2 separate regions of the Homo sapiens genome follow, and region 1 is linked to region 2. The links are contacts of gene promoters, found by promoter capture Hi-C in blood cells and fetal thymus (Javierre and others, 2016). All regions are on one chromosome and are shown on one strand. Each heading gives the region's core, a stretch centred on a gene start or on the middle of the fragment in contact. The rest is flanking DNA. Distances are from core to core; before and after follow the strand shown.

Region 1 (4,470 bases), core at 965-3,464, 110 kb after region 2:
CTACTCAGGAGGCTGAGGCAGAAGAATGGCTTGAACCTGTGAGGCACAGGTTGCAGTGAGCTGAGATTGCACCACTGCACTCCAGCCTGGGTGACAGAGCAAGACTCCATCTCAGAAACAAAACAAAACAAAACAAAACAAAGAAAGGAAAAAGAAAAAGAACTACAGGATAAACCCAGAGGGATTGGTTTGTTTCCCATTGGTTATGAGAAAAAAACAAAAACAAACAAAAACAAAGGGAGTATAAGTGGGAAATACGGTAAGAGCAGCAATTAATGAAATACCAATACAAAGAATGACAACAAAAAGCTGGTGCTTAGAAAAGACTAATAATGACCTTCTGCCAAGATTGACCAGCTATAACAGAGAGAAGGCACAAATAAACAATATTACATGTAAAAAGGGGGACATAACTTTGGATACAGCCAAGATTACAAACATAAGGCAATCATACAAATAACTTTGCGCCAGTAAGTTTGAAGCCATAGCAAACATGAGAAAATATGGGGGCTGGGTGTGGTGGCTCACGCCTGTAACCCCAGCAATTTGGGAGGCTGCGGTGGGCAGATCACCTGAGATCGGGAGTTTGAGACCAGCCTGGCCAACATGGTGAAACCCCATCTCTACTAAAAATACAAAAATTAGCCGGCCATGGTGGCACATACCTGTAATCCCAGCTATTCGGGAGGCTGAGGCAGGAGAATCACTTGAACCCGGGAGGCGGAGGTTGCAGTGAGCCGAGATGGGGCCACTGCACTCCAGCCTGGGCGACAGAGCAAGATCCTGTCTCAAAAATAAATAAATAAATAAATAACATGAAAATATTTTTCCTTGAAAATATGACTGAAGAACAGAACACCTGAGTAATCTATTACCACTGACAATCTAATTCCAAACCTACCTACCCACCCACCCAAAAAATCGCCAGGCATGGTTGGTTTTACAGCAAGCTTTACCAAAAATTGTAGAAATGCAAAATTCCAATCTTATACAAACTCTCGTAATGAAAATAAAGGGAAAACACTTTCCAACTTATTTATATGAAGCTGGTATAACCTTGATACAAAACAAAGGGTGGGGGCAGTACGGAAAAGGAAAACCTTAAACCATTTCACCTATACACCTGGATGCCAAAATACCAGAGAACCAAATCCGGCAGTATAATAACAAATCCATTGTGACTGTCTTCTTCCAGGAATGCAAGGATATCTTAACGTGAGAGAATGTTATGATACTCCACCACATTTACAGATTAGAAGAGGAAAACCATGTGGTGAGCTCAGACTGCCATCTGTGCTCCCTGGCACACACACAGGGGTGGCTGGGTGGCAAGGGGGGAAAGCGCACTGGGCCACACGGGGAAGCCCTGGTGGAAATGACCTGGCTGTAGAGGTTAGTCCTGAAGTGACAGAGGTACAGATTCTGAAGGGCCACAAAGTCTCAAGCATAACTGCAAGAGAAGCCAGTAAGTACTATTAGGCAGCCAGTCACAGGGACTGGCCATGACATCGGGACAAGGGGCTCTTACATCAGATCTCAGCTCACTCAGGGAGATCTATTCATACATGGTTGGATCCCACCATTCAGTTGGAAGAACAGAGGTGGAATCCAGCTTCAGAGAATGACATAGGAAAGTAGCATGCAGAATACAAGGACCCTACCTCCATCAGTACCCTTAGCTACAGCCCACAGAAGCTGAATGGCTGGTAAGAGATGAAGAAGTGGAAACGAAAAGGTTTTAGGGGGAAAAAAAGATGTTACTAGGTGGATCACAGTATCACTGAGAGAATGGAGAAGAACATAAGACCAAGTTTACAGATAAAACGCCAAAACACACACACACAAAGTGGGGAACAGTCAAAGGACTATTTAGAAGAAAACATATAGCCCTGAATATATTAGAAAACAAATTGAAATTAAATTAGCTAAGCACACATCTCAAGAACCCAGAATGAGCAAATAAACCCAAAGAAACGAAGGAAAAGTCCAGTAAGGAAGACCTCTTGCAAAGCTAGCCAAATAAAATACACAAAATATAAACATATTTTGTTGATTTCACCTGCCCTCACCCCTTGCCCCACTTTTTCTGGTAATAGAACCTCTCTATTCCATGGGAAACATATAAAAATTACTTGTGGCTCATCCTGCCCCACCCCAGTCCTCCACACCCTCCCACCCCCCGGCCCTGGCCACAGTGACTGCTCAAGCACAGCAAGTGACCTGAGGAAGATCAATCGCCCTTCACGGAAATACAGGGATCCTCAAGAGCCCCAAGGGGCTCTGTCTACAAGGACTGTGTATAAACTTGAGCGTCCTGGCTGGGCGCAGTGGCTCATGCCTGTAATCCCAGCACTCTGGGAGGCCGACGCAGGCGGATCACGAGGTCAGGAGATCGAGACCATCCTGGCTAACACGGTGAAACCCTGTCTCTACTAAAAATACAAAAAATTAGCCGGGCGTGGTGGCGGGCGCCTGTAGTCCCAGCTACTCAGGAGGCTGAGGCAAGAGAATGGCGTGAACCCCGGGGGGCGGAGCCTGCAGTGAGCCGAGATCGCGCCATTGCACTCCAGCCTGGGCAACAGCGAGACTCCGTCTCAAAAAAAAAAAAAAAAAAAAAACTTGAGCTTTCTACAGAAAACATCTGTAGGAGGGAAAGAAATTAATCAGCCGGGAGCAGAGATGACAGAGATAAATGAGAGAGCCTGAGGAATTCATGCTGCTGGCATTGGTTCATCCCTGCCCGATGCGCACCACTCAGAGACCTCAGGTCAATGAGCCTTGCTTACTTCTCCTAATTTGAGTTCAATTTTGTCATTTATAAGAAAGTCCCGCATACGCCAGGATGGTGGCTCTCACCTGTAATCCCAGTACTTTGAGAGGCCAGGGCAGGAGCATCACTTGAGCCTGGGAGTTCGAGACTAGCCTGGGCAACATAGGGAGAGCCTGTCTCTACTAAAAATAAAAAAAATTAGCCAGGTGTGGTGGCGCGCACATGTGGTTCCAGCTACTCAGGAGGCTGAGGTGGGAGAATCACTTGGGCCTGGGAGGTCAAGGCTGCAGTGGCGCCATGATGGCCTGGGCAACAGAGTGAGAGGCTGTCTCAAAAAAAAAAAAAAAATTACTGGGTGCAGTGGCTCACCCTTGTAATCCCAGCACTTTGTGAGGCTGAGGGGGGCCAATCACCTGAGGTCAGGACTTTGAGACCAGCCTGGTCAACATGGCAAAACCCCATCTCTACTAAAAATACAAAAATTAGCTGGGTGTGGTGGCGGGTGCCTGTAATTCCAGCTACTTGGGAGGCTGAGGCAGGAGAATCACTTGAACCCGGGAGGTGGAGGTTACAGTGAGCCGATACTGCACCACTGCACTCAAGCCTGGGCGACACAGTGAAACTCTGCCTCAAAAACAAAACAAAAACAAACAAACAAAAAAAGAAAGTTCCAAATAATACAAATATTATGCATGAACTTTTGCCCAAAAAGCTTAAATATATATGAAATATGATCCTGGAATGATACAAATGATCAAAATTGACTCAAGGATAGAAAACTTTAGACAGAACACAACTGAATAAACTAAAAGGCAGTGAAAGATCCACCCCTGAAAAAGGTACCCAGCACAGATGTTTTTGTAAACAAGTTCACAACGTTGAAGAAACAAATGCCTGGCCTATAAAGTATTCAAGCCTGAAGAAAAAGACGTCTCCAAACCCATTTGCAAGGCTAGCATAAAGCTAATCTCGAAATAGAACAGGAAGGTCATTTTTTAAAAAGAGGGAGGGGATTGGCCCAGGGAGAGAGATAAAACTCCTAAGTAAATACATAATATACTGTAAAACTAAGCAAGGTTTATATCAGAAAGTAAGGTGTGTCCAACATTAGGAAACCTATTACTGTAACTCAGTACAATCATACAATAAAATCTTTTGATTTTCTCCATAGATGTCAACATTCATCACTGTTAAACAAAAGCGAAGGAGAAAAAAAAAACAGTAAGATGGAACAAAGAAAACATCTTCAGTCTAATGAAGATCATCTACCGGAAGCCCAGAGCAAGCGTCCTACCTCAGGACGCAACGTGAGAACCATTCCCACTGAGAAAACATCAATCAAGGGTGCCATGCAACCACGGTGGAGGTCCTGGCCTCTGAGATTCACAAGAAATAGACATGAGTGTAAAGGAGGAGATAAAACTGTCATTAGTGGGATACGATTTGGCTATCTATAAAGCCACAAGATCAACTGAAGAACTGCGCATTCGACAAGGTGGGCAACACAAAGATGGACACACAGGTGGATGCCAGGGATGGGGAAAGGTGATTTCCACAGATCCTTCACTACCAGTAACTAGGACTTTCATAAAACTCCTAAGACTAAACCAAATTGGAAGTAAAGGCCCATTTGAAGACCACACCACCTTACCAAAGAACATACCTCATTTCTGGACAGGAAGATGAAAAACTGTTAATTT
Region 2 (4,885 bases), core at 739-3,238:
TTTGGGAGGCCGAGGCGAGCGGATCACGAGGTCAAGAGATCAAGACCATCCTGGCTAACATGGTGAAACCCTGTCTCTACTAAAAAATACAAAAAATTAGCCGGGCGTGGTGGCGGGTGCCTGTAGTCCCAGCTACTCGGGAGGCCGAGGCAGGAGAATGGCGTGAACCCAGGAGGTGGAGGTTCCAGTGAGCCGAGATCGCACCACTGCACTCCAGCCTGGGCGACAGAGCGAGACTCCGTCTCAAAAAAACAAACAAAAAAAAGAAACGCAGTAGTGAGCATGTAAGTGAATAAATCCCAGGATTATAGCTGTCCTGTCTCCCACCCCATGGAACCCTAGAAAGCCAGCTCTTCACACCCTTCTCTGGTCTTGGTCACCAGTTCTCAGCCTGAACTCCTATAGGGGAGGTCCCCAGCCCAAGGACCCACTTAGAACAAAGGCAGCAGTAACGGGTGTTAATGCTGCTGCCCAGCCCTTGACCTCACAAGTCAGGCTTTGGCCTCCCTCCGTCTGTGATGCTCACCCTGTTATCCTTCTGGCTCTTCAGCCCCCTCATCCTCATCCCTAGACCGTGGGAGGGATGAGGAACGGGAGGCACTGGCTGCAGTTGCTGCTCCCGGACTCTGACTCTGCGCTTTCCTGTTTTGTTTTGTTTTTTGAGATGGAGTTTCACTTTTGTTGCCCAGGCTGGAGTGTAATGGTGCGATCTCGGCTCACTGCAACCTCCACCTCTCAGGTTCAAGTGATTCTTGTGCCTCAGCCTCCCGAGTAACTGGGATTATAGGCGCCCGCCACCATGCCCAGCTGCTTTTTTGTATTTTTAGTAGAGACAGGGTTTCACCATGTTGGCCAGGCTGGTCTCCAACTCCTGACCTCAGGTGATCCACCCGCCTCGGCCTCCCAAAGTGCTGGGATTACAAGCGTGAGCCACCGTGCCTGGCCTGGTTTTGTTTTTTTGACACAGGATCTTGGACCCACGCTGGAGTGCAGAGGCATGATCATAGCTCACTGCAGCCTTAATCTTCCAGGCTCAAGCAATCCCACTGGCCTCAGCCTCCCCAGTAGCTGGGACTACAGGAGAGCACCACCATGCTTGGCTAACTTTTTTTTTTTTAAGTAGAGATGAAGCCTTGCTCAGTTGTCCAAGTTTGTCTCCAACTCCTGAGCTCAAATGATTCTCCTACCTTGGCCTCCCAAAGTGATGAGATTACAGGCATGAGCCATTATGCCCGGCCTGCTTTCCTGTTTAAAACTCATGATGATCAATTGTTCAGTCAACAAACACCTAGCGAGCCTGACTCATGCCTAGCCCTATCCTGGGAACCGAGGACACCGAGGACACAAGCGAACTGAACACTTCTGGTGTGGTTGGAGGCAGATGCCCAATGGGCACAGGTGCAGCTGGGCTGAAGGGGCTGCAAAGCTTCTACCAGAGGTTGGGGAAGCAGGGAAGGCTTCTTGAAAGAGGCGGCCATTGAGCTGACTGAGCTTCATAGGATGAGCAAGAGTGGTTCCCTTGGCTGGGCGCAGTGGCTCATGCCTGTTATCCCAGCACTTTGGGAGGCTGAGGCAGGTGGATCACCTGAGGTCAGGAGTTGGAGACCAGCCTGACCAACATGGTGAAATGCTGTCTCTACTGAAAATACAAAAAATTCGCTGGGCATGGTGGTGCATGCCTGTAGTCCCAGCTAGTCGGGAGGCTGAGGCAGGAGAATTGCTTGAACCCGGGAGGTGGAGGTTGCAGTGAGCCGAGATCATGCCACTGCACTCCAACCTGGGTGGAAAAAAAAAAGAAAGAAAGAAAGAAAGAAAAAGGGGTGGGATGGGGAGCAGACAGGCAGGGACTGAAAGCCTGAAGGCCTGAGCAACTTGTGGGTTCTAGGGGTCCACCCTCCACCCACCAAGCCTGTCTTCCCCTTCGTGGTTTCTCCAGCCCCACCCTCACACCGTCCTCCTCGATCTGCGCGGCTTCCTGCCTCCATGCCACTCCAGACTGCACCGGCATGGCACTGACTGCCCACCCCTCCTGCCTCCTGGCCCTGTTGGTGGCAGGCCTAGCCCAAGGCATCAGAGGCCCCCTTAGGGCCCAGGTAAGTGCTCCCAAACCCTTACCTATGCCAGTCCCACGCCTGGGGTCACCCCTTCAGAAACAGCTGGCCTGTCATTCTCATTTTTCAGAGGGAGTTGCTGAGGCTGGAGAGGGGGCTGACGTGCCCAAGGGCACATGGGAAGACAGAAAAGGCTAACTGGCTGACCCCTAGCCCAGTCCTTGCACGGCTGGGAACTAAGGTGGGGCCCCAGCAATGATTCCTCTGCCCACTGCCCCTCTCCACCCTTGGTTCCTTGCCAGGACCTAGGTCCCCAGCCGCTAGAGCTGAAAGAGGCCTTCAAGTTGTTCCAGATCCAGTTCAACCGGAGTTACCTGAGCCCAGAAGGTATCACAGGGCACATACATCTCCAGTCCAAGCCCCCACTTTTTTTTTTTTTGAGACGGAGTTTCACTCTTGTTGACCAGGCTGGAGTGCAATGGTGTCATCTTGGCTCACTGCAACCTCCACCTCCCGGGTTCAAGCGATTCTCCTGCTTCAGCCTCTGAGTAGCTGGGATTACAGGCATGCGCCACCACACTTGGCTAACCTTTACATTTTTAGTAGAGATGGGGTTTGACCATGTTGGCCAGGCTGGTCTTGAACTCCTGACATCAGGTGATCCGCCTGCCTCGGCCTCCCAAAGGGCTGGGATTACAGGTGTAAGCCACGGAGCCCAGCCATCCCGCTTTGTAATAGATGAAGAAATCGAAGCTCAGGGTGGGGAACAGGCATGGCCAAGGCCACTCAGCAGGACAGGCCAGGGCTGGGGGTGTGTTCCCTGGTTTCCCGAAGGCATGAGTGGGTCCAGGATCATTCTTTGCTATGGATCTGGAGGGCAGTGGCAGGAGGTGGGGTCCTGCCCTAGTCCTACGTGATCCCCTGGCTCCACAGCCACTTCCCTGCGATTCTAGGCAGTGGACAGGGGGCCACCACCTAGTCATTTGCTCATTCAGCAAACACCCAAGGACACCCATTTTGTCCCCACATTGGGGACTTCTTCTCTAGCCCATGATCTAACCCCTGCCCCTGCCCTCTCGCTGTGCTGATCTCTCTAGGGGGCTGATCTGTGTGTGCCTTTTAGCCCAGACTGCCTGTGCCTTGTCATCTCCTCTCCCTGCCATGTTCCAGCTCTCCTCCTGTGGTCAGAGGTGTAAAGGACGTGGCCTGGCAGGAAGCTGGTCTCCAGCCACACATCCTTGAGTCACCACCACCGGACCCCTTGCCTGGCTTCCCACCTAGGGTGGCCAGAGATGGTCCTCTGGCTGCCTCTGGGGAAAACCCAACCCTCGGTGGGCTGGGTAACCACTTCCTGGGCCTGGGTATCTGCAGTGGGGCCTTGTGGGGGCTACAGGAAAGGAGCCAGTGCTCAACTGGGTGGGTGTGGGTGGAAGGGTGCCCAGCCAGCGGCTACTTCCTGCCCCTAAGGGCTTGGGAGTCAGCCTAGGACAACTCCCTTTTGGTCCAGAGCATGCTCACCGCCTGGACATCTTTGCCCACAACCTGGCCCAGGCTCAGAGGCTGCAGGAGGAGGACTTGGGCACAGCTGAGTTTGGGGTGACTCCATTCAGTGACCTCACAGGTACCATTAACCCTTCTGGCTCGTAGGTGGTGGTTGGGAAGCGATCTCCCCAGGGACACTGGCAGCTGGACCCAGCGGACCTTCAATTTTTACTTCCCAGGGAAGGAAATTCATTTCCCTGAGGACCAGGGGCTTGGGTGCTGGTATCAAATCACCCAGTGCAGGGGCAGAATCTCTGCAGTCCTGTGTCCTAATCCAGCCTAGGGGCCAGCGCAGCAGCTGCAGGGAAGCACCCAGCAGGGAGCCCAGCCTCTCTAGGCTTGGCACCCTTGCCTTTTTGAGACAGGGTCTTGCTCTGTTGTCCAGGCTGCAGTACAATAGTGCAATCACAGCTCACTCAGCCTCCACCTCCTAGACTCAAGCAATTCCCCCGACCCCTCAGCCTTCTAAGTAGCTGGGGCTACAAGCCCGCACAACCACGCCCAGCTAATTTTTCTACTTTTTGTGGAGATGGGGTCTCGGACTCCTGACCTCAAGTGATCCACCCACCTTGGCCTCCCAAAGTGCTGGGATTATAGGTGTGAGCCACCACGCCCGGCCTATCCTTGCCTTTTTGCCCCTCAGGGAATTATGGGACCAACAGCTGGAGTGGGAGAGGCAGAACAGGGAGAAGGGGTCAAAATGGAGACCTCAGTGGCCCTGTCTGTTCCCCAGAGGAGGAGTTTGGCCAGCTCTATGGCTATCGGAGGGCAGCTGGAGGGGTCCCCAGCATGGGCAGAGAAATAAGGTCTGAAGAGCCAGAGGAGTCAGTACCTTTCAGCTGTGACTGGCGGAAGGTGGCCAGCGCCATCTCACCCATCAAGGACCAGGTATCTGCCGCTACCCAGCTGGCTCTAATTCAGCTAAGTGGTGGGAGGGAGAGGGGCACGGCCCGAACACCTAGCCCCGCCCCACCCTCTCGCCCTCCAGAAAAACTGCAACTGCTGCTGGGCCATGGCAGCGGCAGGCAACATAGAGACCCTGTGGCGCATCAGTTTCTGGGATTTTGTGGATGTCTCCGTGCAGGGTAGGGTTGGGAGAGGGTGCGCGTGTGACAGGGGAGGGAGGCCTAGGGGCCTGGTCACCCACACTGTCCCTTCTTGCACCAGAACTGCTGGACTGTGGCCGCTGTGGGGATGGCTGCCACGGTGGCTTCGTCTGGGACGCGTTCATAACTGTCCTCAACAACAGTGAGTGCACTGCCCCGCCACTCTGGACATCTGCAGGGGGACAG

The links. Contacts are between HindIII fragments. The CHiCAGO score rates a contact against its expected background, and 5 or more counts as called.
Region 1: a fragment that was not itself captured here is called in contact with the fragment with the promoter of CTSW in region 2 in 16 of 17 cell types (erythroblasts, naive CD4 T cells, naive B cells and 13 more); the score reaches 14.9 in erythroblasts.

The regions. Positions count from the first base shown.
Region 1 is chr11:65,990,988-65,995,457 of GRCh38, forward strand. No RefSeq gene overlaps it. Among named protein-coding and RNA genes, the nearest start is that of EIF1AD, 8.9 kb to the right of the region's middle. The HindIII fragment of the contact is 2,532 bases long and covers 949-3,480 here.
Region 2 is chr11:65,877,849-65,882,733 of GRCh38, forward strand. CTSW (cathepsin W) reads left to right here and starts at 1,989. Exons shown (of 10, transcript NM_001335.4): 1 at 1,989-2,093; 2 at 2,354-2,438; 3 at 3,559-3,672; 4 at 4,327-4,481; 5 at 4,582-4,678; 6 at 4,761-4,841. The coding sequence starts at 2,007. The HindIII fragment of the contact is 11,122 bases long and covers 1,425-4,885 here.